Linked DNA regions of Homo sapiens: regions 2, 3 and 4 are each linked to region 1. Evidence: promoter capture Hi-C in 16 types of primary human blood cells and fetal thymus (Javierre and others, 2016). All regions are on one chromosome and are shown on one strand. The core of a region is centred on a gene start or on the middle of the fragment in contact, and the rest is flanking DNA. Distances in the headings are between cores, read along the strand shown.

Region 1 (3,016 bases), core at 517-3,016:
AACAAATCCTTGACTAAATAACAGAAGCCAGGGAAGAGAAGGTGATGGACTTCATTAGAGTCTTAAAAAATGAAGGGAATGAAAACAGACCATAGGAATGAGGTGAAGGAGGAGATGGTGCTGATTAGATTGAGCCTCAGTGGATGATAAACTATTATAGCACAGTGGTAAAACCCTGGTATGGCTATCAGCAGGTAACCAGGAAAATGCCAGCCATCCCTCTTGGTTTGAGAGATGTGGGAGAATAAATTAATCTCACTCAAGAAGACAGAAGGATGCATTTTTATTAGGTTTCGGTTAGGGGAGATTTGGATAAAGCCATCTGCACAAAGGTTGTGGATATAGTGATGTTTCTGCATGATGGAATATGGGAAAGGGTGGACGAGAGAGGACACATCTTAGAGTATTATGGTAGAGGTGAAGAAGAGTCCAGCAGTAAGAGGAGAGTTACTCAAGGCACAGGGGAAGAAATTTATCTTGGGAGATGACAAATTACAAAGATAACAGTCAGAGCAGAAGTGATTCGCTTCAAACACGCAACTTTGCTGCAAGTTGACAGGAAGCCTAGCAGTATCTGGTCTAATCTCAGAGAAGAGGGCCCCAACTTTCCTGCATGACCATGAAGACCCTCATCTGGGGCTGGCCCCTAAACACATAGAAAAAAGATGTCTATTTACCACATCACTATGGAATGACAGCTTTTGGCACTACGCTAGGCACCCTGCTGGTGGTGTTGGAGAGGGAGTAGTTAAGAAGGCAAGTTGGACTAAGAAAAGAATAATACATTTCTTGTCCATTCTCTAAAAATTCACTTGGTTCCATGGGCTACCTATTCTTTCCAGATAAAATAAGGCAAGCCTGGTGGATGGGCACCAATAAGAACCATTTCATTGTGAACTGCCCACCCAAGCTCCATATCCAGATACTCTCCTTGTGGTGAAGCAGACAGCTAAGGTGTACACCAATTCTCTTAAGGTAGCAGAGTCATTGAGTCACTTAATACTATCCACTGAATTGATCCTCGTTTAAAATTCAAAATTCAGTATTCATCAAGATTCTTAGGTTATGTACAATGTAATTATTTGTTGTCTATTCCCCAAATTGCATTTTAAGGGGAAAACTCTCACACTGATCATTCATTTAACAGACATATCCTATATGTAAAGGCACTTTACATATGCTACTCAATCTACTCATGTCAGTAATCTTGAAAAGTGGGCACTATTATCCTTCTTTTACAAATAAGGATGCTGTGTCTCAGAGGGGCATACTTGTTAAACACACCACAGACAAGATGCACTTGACTTCAAAGCCCATGTTCTTTCAAGCACACCTCAGCTCAGTCTGGAGTCACACAGAGTAAGGCTCAATATCACAAAAGTGGTTACAGTGTTTGTGTCAGAACAACGCTGCTTGAGAAAACTGAAGGTGGAGGAAACAACATTAGATAGATGTAGCTGCAGTTTGAAATTTTGGGTTCAACTAGCATTCTTTGAATAATCATGTATCCCCTTCTGTGCAGATCAGCTTGGTGGTCAGAGTCAGAATTTTACTCTCCTCCAGGCATTGACAGTGTTATGACATATCTGAAAGAAAAGAACATTGTATTGACGAGTAAATCAATACAGTATATTTGGTCTAATGTCCTGAAGGAGATCAGGCAGAGGAGAGAAGAGTCAGTGTGAACTAGGCTGGTGGCTCTGTCCGGTAGGGAGATGGAAAGGGTGCCGCCCATCATAGAAGTACCAGAACTTGAGCTGGACTTTGCTGATTTAGCTTATGGAAGAGGAACCAGAAATTTGTCCTTGAATAATGTTTCCCGTAAGTAATCAGTTTTTTGATAATTATTTGGTTTTACTGTGATCTGGCTTAGTAACTAGGGTGGCTGCAATAGAGGAAAATCTGGTATTTCCCAGTTTTTCCAACTGGCGGCCGTGGGTCAAGAAGGTTAGTTTCCTGGTTCGTTGTCAGATTGGTGGTAATAAAGGAACAAGGTCAACCTTCTGTCAGAGTTCCTGAATTGGGGGAGGAAGATAACTGGTGCCTCTGCCTTTGGAATGGGGTGGGTGCCAGAGAAGTCAAGGTCCTGGGGGTGTTTGCTTGCCTGGTTCTGTTAACCAGAGGTGGTGTGGCTGAAATGAGAAAGTGAAACTTTAGGAAGGTCTGAGAAGCCCTCTTCCCTTTAAAAAAAAAAAAAAAAAGGCTGCTTCTCGCAGAGTGGAAAGCCCCGGTCCCCATCCCACCAAAACCATTTGACAAGCAGGACAACGAAGAGGCAGAAGGATCTGGGCCTGTGCGCGACGCCCCGGGGGACGAGGCTCATGGAGAAGTTTCGGGCGGTGCTGGACCTGCACGTCAAGCACCACAGCGCCTTGGGCTACGGCCTGGTGACCCTGCTGACGGCGGGCGGGGAGCGCATCTTCTCCGCCGTGGCATTCCAGTGCCCGTGCAGCGCCGCCTGGAACCTGCCCTACGGCCTGGTCTTCTTGCTGGTGCCGGCGCTCGCGCTCTTCCTCCTGGGCTACGTGCTGAGCGCACGCACGTGGCGCCTGCTCACCGGATGCTGCTCCAGCGCCCGCGCGAGTTGCGGATCGGCGCTGCGCGGCTCCCTGGTGTGCACGCAAATCAGCGCGGCCGCCGCGCTCGCGCCCCTCACCTGGGTGGCCGTGGCGCTGCTCGGGGGCGCCTTTTACGAGTGCGCGGCCACCGGGAGCGCGGCCTTCGCGCAGCGCCTGTGCCTCGGCCGCAACCGCAGCTGCGCCGCGGAGCTGCCGCTGGTGCCGTGCAACCAGGCCAAGGCGTCGGACGTGCAGGACCTCCTGAAGGATCTGAAGGCTCAGTCGCAGGTCTGCCGCTGGCGCTGGGGGCGTTTGGGAGGAGCCGAGAGGCCGAGCTTTCTCAGGGCCGCTGGGGTGAGGGAAAAATCGGTGACTTTTCTCCAGATATACAGTACCCTAAGAAAATCTAGAATGGCTCCTTGCATCTAATTTGCCGTCAAGAGAATATCTGAATAAAA
Region 2 (3,016 bases), core at 225-2,724, 160 kb before region 1:
TTTGCCTGGGACTAGTGTTTTCCTGGCTTGGAAATTCATTGTTAAAACTGGCTAGTCTCAAGCAAACCAGGATTGTTGGACACCCTGTCAGAGTTTAGGCCCTGGGGTAAGAAATATTTGAGTTTTAATTCCTGAATTGTCATTTATTGACTTGGTGATTATAGTCAAATTGATTAACATTTCTGTGTCCTCATTGCTTATCTGTAGAGTTAATGCCAGTACCAAATCTATAAATCTGTTGTGAAGATTAAATGAGGCTATCCACATGTGGTAGGCAGAATAATGCCCTCCCCCCAGGAAAGATGTCCATGTTCTAGTCTTCATAACCTGTGAATATGCTGTTACATAGCAAGGGGGAATTAAGGTTGCAGGTGGAATTACGGTTTCTCATCAGCTGACCTTGAGATAGGGATATTGTCCTAGATTAGTCAAGTGAGCCCAATGTAATCACAAGTGTTCTTTAAAGTAAAAAAGGGAGGCAGAAGAGATCAGAGTGACACAGTGTGTGAAGAACTCAACCAGCCATTGTTAGTTTTGAAGACAGAGGACGGGGCCACTAGCCAAGGCATGTGGGCAGCATCTAGAAGCTAGAAAGGTCAAGGAAATGGATTACCCTCTAGAGGTTCCAGAAAGAAATGTAGCCCTTCTGATACCTTCAGTTTAACCCCATGAAACACATTTTAGACTTCTCATTTCCAGAACTGTAAGATAATAAATTTGTGCCCTTTAAAGTCACTACGTGTGTGATAATGTTTTACAGCAGCTATAGAAAACTCAACATATAAAGCATTAAACACATTATCTGACATATAGTGTTCATGTAATACTGTTAGCTAACTCAGCTCCAGTGTTGAAACTCACACAAAGCCTTTGACTTTTCTGCATTCTGATAGGTGGGACATGGAAAACGGAGCCATCCTCTTCTACACTAGCCATTCATTAACACAATTCTTAATAATTAACTCCTAAATAAAAAATCGTTTTGGATACCTCAGGCTAGATACATTATCTTGTTCTTTTGAACCCGTAGGCATTGTGTGCATATCTATGATGATACTTGTTTTACCTTGTTTCTAGCTATTTGTGATTTTACTTAACTCTCTTAGTTTAGAAACAAGTTGAACATGAAAACAATTTTTACTAACTTTTCTATTCTCAGGATGTTATCAATTTGCATAAAGTAGCCAATGTACATTAAATATTATTAAGTAATAAGTATGGGAAAAGAGGAAGTGAAAGCAAGCAGTTTTCTGATGTGACCTAGAAATTGCACAGTTGTGTCCACTCTCATGCCACTGGCAAAACTTGGTTTGCAAGAGAAACAGAGGGAAATTTGTCTCTAGTTAATGTAGTTTTGTGCTTACCTAAAATTTTGGGAAAAAAGAGAGGACTGAATGTTGAAGAACAATGAGCACTTTCTCTGTTTAATGGTTTTAAGAATAATTTGAGCCAATTAGAAGTTATCTATAATTAATTATGAGTTTAGAAAGCTATAAGGGAAGAAAGTGCCCCAAAGGTATGGTGAACTAGAAATGTAAATAAATTCTCATCCTGAAAGGCTTCTTGAATTATTTTTATATATATATATATATATATATATATATATATATATATATATATATACACATACACACACACACACACATACATATATATGTATGTATATGTGTGTGTATATGTATGTATGTAGGTAGGTAGGTATAGGTATAGATAAAGAGATAGAGATAGATGATGGACATTCCTCTGCACTCAACTTGTACCACATAGAATCTCTAAAGTTTGAACAATACTATTCACAACTTTTTATTTTGTCACCTAAGAGGCCAAGATAACTTTTTAGGGCACATCTTTAACAGTTATTAATGTTGAAATGGTTAATTCTACAGTGTACTGTGAATTGAAACTGAGAAAGTAAAATCAATATGGTCCAAAAGAATGTTACCTAACACATTTTACTATTTTCTGAGATTGCTGGTGTTTTGGCAGTGACTGGCTGTGGGCAAGGATAACATGCAACATTAGATGGAAATATAGTTGTGGAATTTTAATAAACTGTTGGTCTGCCAATTATTTGCTTTTATTCAAACCGTTTTTAAATTTGGCAGTTATTCATAAATCTCAGTCCAGAAAAACTGTCAACTTTTCTTAGGAAGATGTATATAGTAGTAAGAGAATAAAGAAAAGACAGACCTTCACATATTCCAGAAAGAGATTTTATTTTTGCCCCAACCTACTGAATTTGTACTTCCAGAGTTTGCCATAGTACTTTAGAACCCAAAGTTACAATTAGAGGAATAATAGGAACTAACAGAGTCATGTCCGAATAGTAAGTTTCAAATAGTACATTTTAGGTGATTGTTACTATTTCTTGGAATACTAAATAGTTCTGATGAGTACAATACTCATTTCCTTCCATATTTGAGTATTATTTTCATACAAATGCAAAAATGAAAGAAGAAAAGCCTCGCTTCAAATGCACAAGTTCCTTAAATTTCTGAATATATCATTTTATCCTGCTTGTTGATAAAATTCCACAGTATTGAAGAGCTGGGAATTTTTAGAATTCACAGGGACTATGCATAATATTTGGTAATGGCTTGATGTGCTTCATGACATATATTATCTTTCTCCTTCTGCTCAAGATCTACTTGGCATAATTATTTTCCTGACTTCTGCCTCAGGCAATCAAGTCTAATGGGGACATTTTTGGCCTTTTGCTAAGTTACCAGTGCTAGTGTCAAAGAACTATTGTCCTTCCCCCCTTTCTTTCACCCTTTGAATCTGAGTCCAAAATAAATGAATGGTAACAAGTTCTCTTCACTGCTTTTTAGTGTAAAGTTTCAGTTCAGGGAAAGTTCTGTTCAACAATGAATTCCAGCAGTGTTCCTAATGCCAGCAGGCAGCATAAAGGTCTCGGAGTGTGGAAGTAAGCCAGAATAAATTCTTCTCAATTTGAGTGAAGTCATTTATATATGATAACATATGATTATGATTCTTAATGCAAACTTCATGGCCA
Region 3 (3,016 bases), core at 238-2,737, 140 kb before region 1:
ATAAACTTCAAAAACATAGCTTAAGTTTATCTCAATAACACCTTTAATTTTATAAATCTTTAAAATGTATTCTAAAAGGAGTTCAGATTGAACCTTTTGTTTAAAGGGGCAGATGGAAGATAGTAGGAGCAGAGCTTCCTTCTGACATTGATTCATGGTTGGGTTTATGGTTGAGTTCATGGATCTTTCTATAATGATTTTCCAGCTGATTCTAAATGTTAAGTAGGACTGGCCTGTGACTGATATCTACAGACCTTACTATAGACTGGCAGTAAACTCATAATAATCTATATGATTTAAAATCAGTTGTTTAACCACAGTATAATTTCAAGACTATACTTCCCTTTCAGACATTGGTATTTAACAAGTGGATAGTCTAAACCTACCCTGGGACTGGACCTTGGGAGCTAGTTCCAGTTTTCAATTAATGAACCACATTATACTAGATGAATAAGATTTAAATAATTTTGTCAAAGCGTTATCCCCTCAACTCATGAAATAACCTTTACTAGGACAATAATGGGACTTGGTGCGGAATGACCTGAAATGACAGCTAGTCCAGAAAGATTGGTATTTGGTTGTGCTGTAGATGACTTCCTTATCCTGAAACTAATTACAGAAAGGAAGATATTTAACAAATGCCTTGGAAATTGATTAAGCTTCTTCTTCTTTTTGCTTATTTCTTCTTCTACTACTACTACTACTACTATTATTATTATTATTATTATTATTACTGCTACTACTACTACTTTTAATGTGCTGTGCAGGTACCTTAGCTCATTTACTACTAGAAATTTTGTGAGCTTATGTTAGCCTGGATTATCCAAGAAGCAGATGCTGATTCAGCATTAAATGTGCAAGAAATTTAGTAGGGTAAATTCCTGTGAGAAAAAAAATGTGAAGGGATCCCAGAGAGGCTGGAAGAGCCCTTAATGCAAGTCTGACCCTGAGGAAAAGATAGAAAGAGAAGGGGAAGAATGGTGTAAGCATTTCAGACTGCTGTTCAGTTCCATGAAAACTTAGCAAGGCTGTTGGGGAATCCTCAAGCCAAAGCCAACTATTAGAGGAGTCACTCATCTCATGGGATTGGGCCTGCCTTTGTATTTCTGTTGTACAGTCATTGGCCGGGAGCAGCCTGTGGGAGAATGTGGACCTCAGTGGATTTCAGAACAGAGCAGCTGGGGCTTTCAGCCAATTCTGCCCCCTGCAGTCAAAATCTAGGAGGCATATTGTTATGGCCAATATTCTCATATTTAGACATGATGTTCTAGAGATTCCGGGAAGTTACTCTTGGATATGTGTCCAAGATGTGTCCTTTCCAGAATAATTTCTCTTTACACATTCTTTAACCTGGTTATTATCAGTCTTGTGCTGAACTCTCTAACCCATGTGGATAATTTTTAGTAAGGATGCTTAGTAATTTAAAAACATAAAATCCATGCTGCTAGTCTCTAAATCTTCTACGAAAAGTTTAATGCTAAACAAAAGGGGTGTGTGTGTTGTTTGTATCATGTATATGTACATACAAATACACACATACACATAGTATTGAGAAACATAAACTTATTCAACTGGTTATTATAGACCATGAAAGGAATTGTATTGCCGTATCTAAACAAAGTGTGCAATTGTTTGGGTTTATGTACTCTGTGCTTATGAGTGTTGTGAATTTGTCACTTGGGCTTTCACCTCAGAACAAGTCCTTTTTTATTTCTACCTCTTGAAATAATAGTTGTTCACTCAAAGCTCAGAGGTGGTAGAAACTGGTAGCAGATATCAGGAAAACAAGAATAATTGTCATTTACTATTATTGGTCAGTTTGGTTCTTTATTATTTCCTTGGAAATTATACACAATCAGAACAACTACTTGAGGGTTTTTTAAACCTCAAATAGTATAAAAATAGCATTTTATCCTAATCAAAGCAAGTTTTATTCAGTGTTTTTCTATGATCGAACAAGGAGTGGACAAATATATATTGAGCACTTGCTGTATGACATGCTGAGGCATTCGACATTCATGATTTCATTTCTTGTAGCATTATAATTATTATGCTTCACAACAAGCCAATGGGCTAGGTGTCATTATGCACATTTGAAAAGTAGGGGCCAGTCGTGGTGGCTCACCCCTGTAATCCCAACACTTTGGGAGGCCAAGGCAGGCAGATCACAAGGTCAAGAGATCGAGACCATCCTGGCTAACACAGTGAAACCCCGTCTCTACTAAAAATACAAAAAATTAACCAGGCATAGTGGTGGGTGCCTGTAGTCCCAGCTACTTGGGAGGCTGAGGCAGGAGAATGGCATGAACCCGGGCCAAGCTTGCAGTGAGCCGAGATGCACCACTGCGCTCCAGGCTGGGCAACAGAGTGAGATTCCATCTCAAAAGAAAAAAAAAAAAGAAAGAGAAGAAGACTGAAAAAGCAAAACTAAAACTAACTTGCCCCATGGCTCTCAACTAGTAAGTGGCAAAACTAGCAACTTTACAACTATCTGACTGATATCAAAGCTCCAGTTTGTGTTTCTCAGCTATACGTGTCTTTTTAAAAATGAAGGAAATTAAATTTCAGCATCAAATTACCTGGCTAATTTAGAAATGAAGGGTTAAAAGTAAATAGAAAATGAGAAATTTAAAAATATTTTTTGGAAGGAAATACCCAAAGAGTAAAGTGAATTAAATCAGCTTCTTTTCTACTTGCTTATTAATAACAATAATAATGCTAACGTATCCTACAAAGCACATAGCAGAAATGTCTAAGAAAACTGTGTACCTAGTAAATATGTATTAACATGTTTACATATGATTTAAAGATGACTAAAATAGAGGACAGAATGCCCAAAACGCTCTTTTTCTGTTTAGGATGAAACCATTGAAAAAAATGCTTCAGTAGTCTCTTCTAGAAATTGAGGGGAATAGGCTAGGTCATCTCTAAACTCTCTTCAGTTCTAAGATTCTTTATTCTTTCTTTACTTTTTCTAAGCACTTTGACATAGTACTATCCATTTATTTTCAAGATG
Region 4 (3,016 bases), core at 384-2,883, 140 kb after region 1:
ACTCTGCGATTTCAGTAAGGCCCATTCCCAACATGAGTGCTGCTGTCCACGGTACTGAACCATCAATGCTAAATGGTATTTAGTTGTGGATCTTCATCCTGTCATGCAGCTAAATATTCCAGGAATACTGAACCAAGTGAGGAGAAAGATAGCAGTGGGTTGCTGCAAAGGAGGTGAGGGGAGGGGAGAGATAGCAAGTGAGAAAAAGAGAGACTAGTGGTGATGTTTTTAAGTAATTGAAGTAAAAAAGAGAGAGAAAGAGAGAGAGAAGAGGTTCTACTCAGTCCACCAAAGCTTTTTAATTTCCTTACATAATTAACATGATGAATTTTTAAATAATTGTTATATTTAGTTTTGTTCTTCCACCTTTTGGCTATTTCTACTACATATTTACTTATCATAAAAAATACTTCCTAGACCTTCCTCTTATAGCTATTGCCTATCTCTGCCTTTGCAGCTGTTCTCCTTTAAAGAGTAGTCTCCATTAGTTTTCTTGACTTCTTCATCTCCCTGCATAAAGATGAAGGGTATTTAGCTCTGAAAATCCTTTACTGTTGAATATTTAGATTGTTTTCAATTTTTACATAATGAACAATGCATCATGGGATTATTGGCTGCAAATAAATTGGAAACATAAAAGGTGTTTTAAGTTTAAATTTTTTTAAAAAAACAGGTAAAAATAAAATATTTGCCAAAGACTAAGGGTTGCAAAGCTACCTCATGATACACTCTTATACCAATACTAAAATAAACTTCACAACAACAAAATTAGTGATTGGGAAATTACAGTTTTGATGAACTTGGCATTTCAATCAAAGTCATATTTGCCACCGTTCTCTCAGTAGCTTTAGGCCAATTTCCAAATTGCTTTCGACAAATTAGTTTTATTTGTTTATATTATATTATATATATATAATATACATATATTTAAATTATATTTATAATTCTTTCAGTCAGATTTCCTGGAGAACAATAGTTGTTAGGTGCCTACCAGAAAATAGGACTAGAAAGTCATGTTGGAGCCATATTGTGGAAGTCCAAGGAAGTCGGATGGGAGCAAAGGTCATTTCAATTATATATCAAGCTTATATTCTATGGAAACTAACCCCTTCCTAGCACATATATTATTGAAAAATTATTCACCTGCTATTTTATCAATGTCATTTATAAATTAAAATTTTTCTTATTATAACTATACCTTAAAAACACCAATAAAATTGCCAGATCACTGATATTCCTGCTTTTATTATTATAAGATAATATATCAGTTCTTCAAATACACCTTTGAGTAGAAGGATGGAACTGAAAATTGATTTGGGTTTATTTAAAAGAGAAACCTTTCAACAATCCTAAATCTCAGATTTTTAATAGCATTTTTGTTGTTTGAGTATGGCCAGTTTCCTATTTATTTCCTATTTCTTATTGTTTGACAGTGCCCATTTATGTAGGAAAATCAAAATGGAAAAGTACATTAGAAAACGTATAAATCCTTCAACTTAAAGATGTATGATATTGGTATCTGGTTGCATAAGTTTCTAGTCAGAGGCTTTTCTAGTCATTTCTGTTCAAAAGTGGGATCCACCAGAATGTACACGTGATGATGGACCTTGTCTGTCTGTTCCCCAGTTTATTGTTACTATGAGAATAATGCCTAGCAGAGAGCAGGCAGTCTGTAAATACTTGTTGAGTGTATACATGAATAAGTCCTTTTGTACTACTGTTTTGTAACGTACTGTAACTTTTATTTTATTTTTTTGAGATAGGGTCTCATTTTGTCACCCAGGCTGGAATGCAGTAGCGTGATCTCAGCTCACTGCAGCCTTGACCTCCTGTGCTCAAGCCATCCTCCCACCTTAGCCCCCAAATTAGCTGGGACTACAGGCATGCGCCACCACACCTGGCTAATTATTATTATTATTATTCTTGTTTGTATTTTTTGTAGAGGTGAGGTTTCGCCATATTGCTCAGGGTGGTCTTGAACTCCTGAGCTCAAGCAATCCACATGCCTCAGCCTCCCAAAGTGCTAGGGATTACAGGCATAAGCCACCACACCTGGCCGCTGTAATTTTTAAAATAGACAATTTGTCAGATATATAGGTTGGGATAAACGAAAATGTGACAAAAGGAGCGTCCCTCTGCCAATTTAGAAATATAAATATGCATAAAAATACTTAAAGATACACGAAGCTTTGGGAAATTGCCATACACACACTCTATCCCCAGTATACCAGTATTTTACAGATTTTAAAACCAGTAACAAATATTTATTTACAATACCATTCTGCCTAAAATTTACCTATTAGCCAGATTGCTTTATGCATTTGGTCAAATTGCATTTAGTCAAATTGTTTTCAGCCAAACCTTATGCGCACATGCTAGCCAGTGGGATGATAAGAGACAAGAGATGTAGTCTGTCTTCTTGAGGTATTCTCATATTTCCGGGCACATAAATACAGTATTGAATGAAAACTTACAGGATGCTCCAGGGTCACAAAGGAGGGACATCTAAGTTAACCTGGGATTGGGATGGCCCAATGAGTCTTCTCAAAAGAAGTGCTTGAAATGACCAGTTGGAGGGCAGGAGCTGTGTTTTATTTGACTTTATATTTACTGCTTTGTAGATAATCTATACTAAATAATTATTGGATGAAATAATCATTGAAATCTGAAATAATTATTCATGTAGTAATTTATTGGATGAATAAATGAAATCAAGTTGAAGATGCATGGGAACATATTTAAACTGTTGTATCTTGGGATTTAAGCTGGATGAAAAAATAAGTCAAAGGAAGCATTTATGTGGGGAGAAATGGAAGCTACATATCTCTTTAAAATCAAAGATTATTCCTAATGGAAAATAAGGAAAAGAGAAAATTTGAATTCTGGGAGACTTAGGTTTCTGAGAAGTTCTTTCAGATAATGACAATTCAAGAGTGGTTCTTTGAGGTAGGAGATGGCTGAAGTGGGGCAAAAATAATAGTTATTTAATGATATTAATAAGTTATGAGGTTAGAAT

Evidence for each region. The method cuts DNA at HindIII sites, captures the fragments that hold promoters and counts their contacts. A CHiCAGO score of 5 or more calls a contact.
Region 2: a fragment that was not itself captured here is called in contact with the fragment with the promoter of CALHM6 in region 1 in 9 of 17 cell types (naive B cells, total B cells, neutrophils and 6 more); the score reaches 19.7 in naive B cells.
Region 3: a fragment that was not itself captured here is called in contact with the fragment with the promoter of CALHM6 in region 1 in 6 of 17 cell types (monocytes, total B cells, naive B cells and 3 more); the score reaches 13.4 in monocytes.
Region 4: a contact is called between a fragment that was not itself captured here and the fragment with the promoter of CALHM6 in region 1, in 2 of 17 cell types (total B cells and naive B cells). The highest score is 5.5, in total B cells.

Annotation. Positions count from the first base shown.
Region 1 is chr6:116,459,609-116,462,624 of GRCh38, forward strand. It overlaps CALHM6 (calcium homeostasis modulator family member 6), which reads left to right and starts at 1,767. Exons shown (of 3, transcript NM_001010919.3): 1 at 1,767-1,821; 2 at 2,264-2,846. The coding sequence starts at 2,322. It overlaps CALHM6-AS1 (CALHM6 antisense RNA 1), which reads right to left. Exons shown (of 2, transcript NR_174951.1): 2 at 870-1,586. RefSeq lists enhancers at 2,173-2,282, 2,293-2,372 and a silencer at 2,753-2,832. The HindIII fragment of the contact is 9,761 bases long and covers 1-3,016 here.
Region 2 is chr6:116,297,930-116,300,945 of GRCh38, forward strand. It overlaps a transcript of DSE not described here. Among named protein-coding and RNA genes, the nearest start is that of TSPYL1, 20 kb to the left of the region's middle. The HindIII fragment of the contact is 9,643 bases long and covers 1-3,016 here.
Region 3 is chr6:116,316,120-116,319,135 of GRCh38, forward strand. It overlaps a transcript of DSE not described here. Among named protein-coding and RNA genes, the nearest start is that of TSPYL1, 38 kb to the left of the region's middle. The HindIII fragment of the contact is 1,660 bases long and covers 658-2,317 here.
Region 4 is chr6:116,596,974-116,599,989 of GRCh38, forward strand. It overlaps RWDD1 (RWD domain containing 1), which reads left to right. Exons shown (of 7, transcript NM_015952.4): 7 at 1-702. Among named protein-coding and RNA genes, the nearest start is that of RSPH4A, 18 kb to the right of the region's middle. RefSeq lists silencers at 1-200, 1-150. The HindIII fragment of the contact is 1,103 bases long and covers 1,083-2,185 here.